Linked DNA regions of Homo sapiens: region 2 is linked to region 1. The links are contacts of gene promoters, found by promoter capture Hi-C in blood cells and fetal thymus (Javierre and others, 2016). All regions are on one chromosome and are shown on one strand. Each heading gives the region's core, a stretch centred on a gene start or on the middle of the fragment in contact. The rest is flanking DNA. Distances are from core to core; before and after follow the strand shown.

Region 1 (2,969 bases), core at 400-2,899:
TCCACGTGTCCTGGTCACTGGTCTTTATAATTGTTGTGCAATAACTAAAGGCTAAGGACTAGATGCACTATCGTGTAAAGAGATTACACATGACTGTACCATGTTGCACTTAATCAAATAGTATGTGGGGATTTAAAATCGCTTGCATTGTTTCACAAAATAAATATCTCAATGTCAAATACTAGATAAGCATCTAAGTCATTTCTACGGAATCCTGTTCAGATAGGGGCACAATAAAATGAGTACAGAGCACCGGGGCCCTCACCTGGCAATCGCAGCTTTCATTTACTGCGTTGATCACTGCCCAGTCCTAAGGCTACAAAGCCATCCTCACTACATCCTTCAAACTATGTGCCATTATCTTCAGCCCACATTTAAAGAATCCAGTGAAAGTTCGTAACTGAGGGGGTAGGGCAGTGGTGCTCCTGGGCTGCAGTTTACACCCTTCATTGTCTAGTATAATGTTAATTCGGGACACCTTCATTCATCGAATGTCCATGTAGTGAACGCATACGTGCATCCTTGCCCACCATTGCTGCCCTGTACTCAGAACTGATGCACCTTTCACTGGAGCCCTTGTGGAAGATCTTTTACCAATCACTGAATCTGGACTGTGTAACTAGGTGTCTATGTTGTCCCCAACCATATATAAAATCTAATTCACCTTCACAACCGCCCTATAATTTTGAACTGTTTAGGAGTGACAGATTAACCTGCCCAAAGCTTTAGTCCCATGCTTGTCAGTACTCCTGCATGGTTATTTGTAAACAGGTCGATTACCCTTTAGTCAGGAGTTAACTCAATGCAGTTCCACACCGAATCTGTTTATGTCAAGTACACAACAGCCCTGCAGACGCCATTCCACGCTGCCTTCAACTAAATCTGCGCGTCTGATGGCAGACGCGACAGCCTGGGACTTATGTCGAACTCACGGCGAAGGCACAGCGCGCGCGATACACTCAGGGAAGGCTGGGCTGGGGAACGTATGGGAGCAGAGGGGCACTCCTTACGCATCAAGAGTCCGCGTATCCCCGTCAGCCACCGCCCCCCTAACACGCCATTCCAGCCTTGGTATTACGGATTGAGGCCTGTCGTGGCAAAACAGCTGGAAAATTGCCCAGCCTAGCAGCCGGACAGTCAGGTTACTTCTTGTCGCTCGCGGTTAAAAAGGCCGCCCGCGGGAGGCCAGGCGGCCCCAGTTATGCGCAAGCACATGCTCTAGCGCTGCAGATTGACCCCCGGCGCCACGAGGAAGCTCGGCGGGGGCTCAAAGACAGCGCGTCGCCAACGACACACACCGACACCAGGGTTGGGTTCAAACCACTTTATTGACGGGAATGGGGTGGCAAAGCAGCAAGGACGATGACATCCGACGTCCTCGGCTGGGAGCTACAAGAACGAGAGTGATAGATCAGCGGGTGTGCGCGCGCCCGCCCGCCAGCCCCCTCCCAGCTCCGCTCGGGCAGGCTCAGACTCCAGTTCGCATCACCCGCGTCAGCAGTCTAACACGTGCTTTAATTGGAATGTCATCACAGCAGGCCGGCCCCCCTACGCCTCCCTGCTCCCGAGCCACGACCTCCGGGGCCCACCCAGCCAGACGACCCGCCAGGAATACAACCTGACCTCCCGGAACCTGCAGGCGCTGAAAGACAGGGGAGCGTCGATGGCGTTCTTTTAAAGGAGCAGACCAGCGCTGATGGGCGGGCTTTACTGCCATTAACCAATAGCAAGTTCACCTTGCGACCACGTGCGCGTAAAGTTGTCTGGTGACTGGTAGTCCTTGCTGAGTCCTCCAGAGGATAGATGGGTCACATACCAACCATAGAGATGGGAGTCGCTCAGTCTCAAATCCATTTGCGTTTCAGCGACTCCACCGCCAGCTGGTAATGAGCGCATCTCTCCGCAGTACGCAAAAGAAAACTTCACCAAGAGCAGGCGACGATGATGCCTAACTTGGATGACATGTTCTGTGCCAGGAGCTAGGATAGGAGTTGAGAATGGAAAGTTAAAAACTGTCCCCAAGTGCAAAATAACCTGTCGTGGTAGAAAGAGCTTGTATTGAAAATGGACCGATCTGCACCACATCCTGACTTTGTGATGCGTTCGCTCTGTGACCTTGCTCAGTTAACCTTTCTGAGATTCAGTTTCTGGAAATTAGGAATACCCCCCCGCCGCCCCCCCCCAACACACACACACCGCGAAAAAAAAAAATTGTAAGGATTCGGTGAATTAATGCCAATTGCCTGGCACATTCTAAGTGGTAAACAAAGGTATTTAAAGGGCAGAGTGATGTGAAAAACTTCCTGGGATTGCAAAACTTTAATAAATACTAACATAGCGCTATGAACAGCCTACTGTAGAAGCCCAAAGGACAGAAAGCCTGACTTTGGGAAAGCTTCGCAGAGTTGATTGAGCCTGTTCCCCGGACATACAGGTGGATGAATGATAGTTTGCTTAACTGGGGGAGGACACAGTACACCAGCAGTCACAGTCGCCGGTTATCTTTATTGCCTCCCTGTTTTCCTTGGGAATTCTTTTCCTTTTTTTCCTCTTAATACGGAAAATTTATTGTTTTGTGTGTGTGTGTGTATGTGACAGTGAAATCATTTCACCCTATGGGTTTGTAGTTGAATGGGCTCTTATTTTCCTTATTTTCTATATAGACTTTAAATTCAAAAAATTCCTCTTTGGCCGGGCGCGGTGGCTCACGCCTGTAATCCCAGCACTCTGGGAGACGGAGGCGGATGGATCAGGTCAGGAGTTCAAGAACAGCCTGGCCAACATGGCGAAACCCTGTCTCTACTAAAAATACAAAAATTAGCCGGGCGTGGTGGCAGGCCCCTGTAATCCCAGCTACTCAGGAGGTTGAGGCAGGAGAATCGCTTGAACCCGGGAGGCGGAGGTTGCAATGAGCTGAGATCGCGCCATTACACTCTAACCTGAGCAACAGAGCGAGACTCCATCTCAAA
Region 2 (2,700 bases), core at 185-2,684, 530 kb after region 1:
CCCACATTCCCACCTCCCGTCAGTCACCGAAGGCTCGGCGGGCGCGCGGGCTGGCGCAGTTCCCCGCCGGCTACTTTAGGGCTGGGGTGAGGAGTAGGCGGCTGCAGGGGGCCCTCAGGCCTTCCGCCCTCCGGGTTCTCGGAGGCCCCAGCGATCTGGGTGGTTCCAGAGGGTGGCGTCCTGCTCCTCCCCGTGCCCAGCACAGGGCGTGTAACGAGTGGGGAGGGTCTGGCCTGAGCACTTCCCGGCGCGCGGCCACCTCTGCGGCCCCATCCCCCGACTGGTCCTCCGGTCCCGACGCTGCTCTTGCCCCGGGCAGGGGCGGCCGGCCCAGCCCAGCTTTCCCTGTCTCACACCTCCAGGGCCACACCCTCTGGTCTAGGTACCTCAGACACCCGAGGCTGGGATAGTGCTGGCATGTGGGTCCCTGGAAATCTGAGTTCCGCCAGAGGTTCTTTCAGAAAATAACTTTTTTCTTATAAAAGCAACACGAGCTTTTTGTAGGAAAATTGAAAAATGCAGAAAACTATGAAAAAGAAAAGATCCCACCCCAGAGATAATCTATTTCCTACCTAGATAGGCGTTTGACAAAAATGGCTTTGTATTGTTTTGTAGTATGCTTACATTTTATTCTGTTTTCCCGTGCCACCAAATATCCTTCCAAAACAATTGTACTGATTGCATGATGTTTCAAAATTAAAGGCACCATAATTAATTTCCCCAACCTTTTCATTGTTCAACATTTTATACACTCAGATCTTCAGATTCCAAGTCCACCACAATTAATGTGGGCTCCTTTCTCCGGCCTCTGTTCCAGTGTAATATGTCAGGCTCCAGAATAATCTTCCTCAGATGTCATTGTCCACTGTCCACTAAGAACATTTAGTGGTGGCTTTGCCTTGAGTGTCAAATCCCTTAAGAATTACCTTGGGCTCTCCCCTATTTCTTTTCTTTTTCTTTTTTATTTTTCGAGATGGAGTCTCACACTGTCGTCCAGGCTGGAGTGCAGTGGCGCGATCTCGGCTCACTGCAACCTCCGTCTCCCGTGTTCAAGCAATTCTCCTGCTTCAGCCTCTCAAGTAGCTGGGATTAACAGGCGTGCGCCACCACGCCCGGCTAATTTTTGAATTTTTAGTAGAGACGGGGTTTCGCCATGTTGTCCAGGCTGGTCTCGAACTCCAGACCTCAGGTGATCCGCCAGCCTCGGCCTCCCAAAGTGCTGGGATTACAGGCGTGAGCCACTGCAAGCAGCCTCCCTTATTTCTTTACACTCATCTCCGTATATTTAATCAGCCCCCTTGTCCTGTTTTCTTTTTCTTCCAACAAGCTTAAGCCTGCCATATTCCCACTTGATTTGGTCTCTACCCAGTTTACTGGAGTTCCTTAACTATAATAATCTCTATTCTTGAAAGCGGGGATAAAGGGGAAAGAAAATTAGTATTTATCAATATAACAGGCACGTCATTGCATTTAATTTTTCCAATAACTCTAAGGTTATTATGCTAATACTGTGGGCATTTAAATGATGAAAGTGAAGCTTAGAGAGGTTAAGCACTGTGTCCAAGTAGTGGAGCCAGGATTCATACCAAGCCTGTGTGACTCCCAAAGGCCATGTTCTTGCACTAGGCCAGTGTTTCTCAACCTTTTTTTCATTATCCACCCCTGCCAGGAAAAAATTTTAATTTAAATTACTTAATTAAATTTAAATTCTCCCTAAGAAGAGAAATTAAATACTAAGGAATAAGATTTTGTCAGGTAGAGTAGAGCCTTTGTAAAAAAAATTTTCTGTAGAGTTGGGGGTGTCCCACCATTTTGCCCAAACTGGTCTCAAACTCCTGGGCTCAAGCAATCCTCCCACCTCAACTTCCCAAATTGCTGGAATTACAGGTGTGAGCTGCCATGCTCCTTTCTGTTTTCCCAATTGCTAAAGCACAGATGCTGCTCGACTTACCATGGGGCCATGTCCAGATAAACCATCAGATGAACAATCGTTAAGTAGAAAATGCATTTAATACACCTGACCTACTGAACATCATAGCTTAGCCAAGCCTATCTTAAGCGTGCTCGAACACTTAAGTTAGCCTACAGTTGGACAAAATTATCTAACACAAAGCCTATTTTATAAGAAAGTTTTGAATAGCTCATGTAATTTACCAAATACTGTACTGAAAATGAAAAACAGAATGGTTGTACTCAAAGCACAGTTTCTACTGAATTGTGTGTTGCTTTTGAACCATCATAACGCCAAAAATCATAAGCTGAGGCCGGGGCACAGTGGCTCACACCTGTAATCCCAGCACTTTGGGAGGCTGAGGCGGGTGGATCACTTGAGGTCAGGAGTTCGAGACCAGCCTGACCAACATGGTAAAACCCTATCTCTACTAAAAATAAAAAATTAGCTGGGCGTGGTAGCGCACACCTGTAATCCCAGCTACTTGGGAGGCTGAGGCAGGACAATTGCTTGAATCCGGGAGACAGAGGTTGCAGTGAGCCAAGATCATGCCATTGCACTCCAGCCTGGGCAACAAAAGCAAAACTCCATCTCAAAAAAAAAAAAAAAAAAAAAAGGTATAAGCCGAACCATAGTAAGTCAGAGACCCTCTGTACAAACCTAGGAGTGTTCCTTGATTATTCTCTCTCCCTGACACCCATATATCCAAACATGCAGCAAATCTTTTCAGCTCCCACTTCAAAATGTAT

The links. Contacts are between HindIII fragments. The CHiCAGO score rates a contact against its expected background, and 5 or more counts as called.
Region 2: a contact is called between a fragment that was not itself captured here and the fragment with the promoter of SNHG25 in region 1, in 3 of 17 cell types (non-activated CD4 T cells, total CD8 T cells and naive B cells). The highest score is 6.6, in non-activated CD4 T cells.

The regions. Positions count from the first base shown.
Region 1 is chr17:64,144,650-64,147,618 of GRCh38, reverse strand. SNHG25 (small nucleolar RNA host gene 25) reads right to left here and starts at 1,649. Exons shown (of 2, transcript NR_132278.1): 1 at 1,619-1,649; 2 at 1,310-1,389. SNORD104 (small nucleolar RNA, C/D box 104) reads right to left here and starts at 1,541; the gene lies at 1,462-1,541. It overlaps SNORA50C (small nucleolar RNA, H/ACA box 50C), which reads right to left and starts at 1,280; the gene lies at 1,148-1,280. TEX2 (testis expressed 2) reads left to right here. Exons shown (of 12, transcript NM_001288732.2): 12 at 1-392. RefSeq lists enhancers at 1,221-1,430, 1,408-1,962. The HindIII fragment of the contact is 1,672 bases long and covers 726-2,397 here.
Region 2 is chr17:63,619,276-63,621,975 of GRCh38, reverse strand. No RefSeq gene overlaps it. Among named protein-coding and RNA genes, the nearest start is that of MAP3K3, 1.8 kb to the left of the region's middle. RefSeq lists a silencer at 249-318. The HindIII fragment of the contact is 210 bases long and covers 1,330-1,539 here.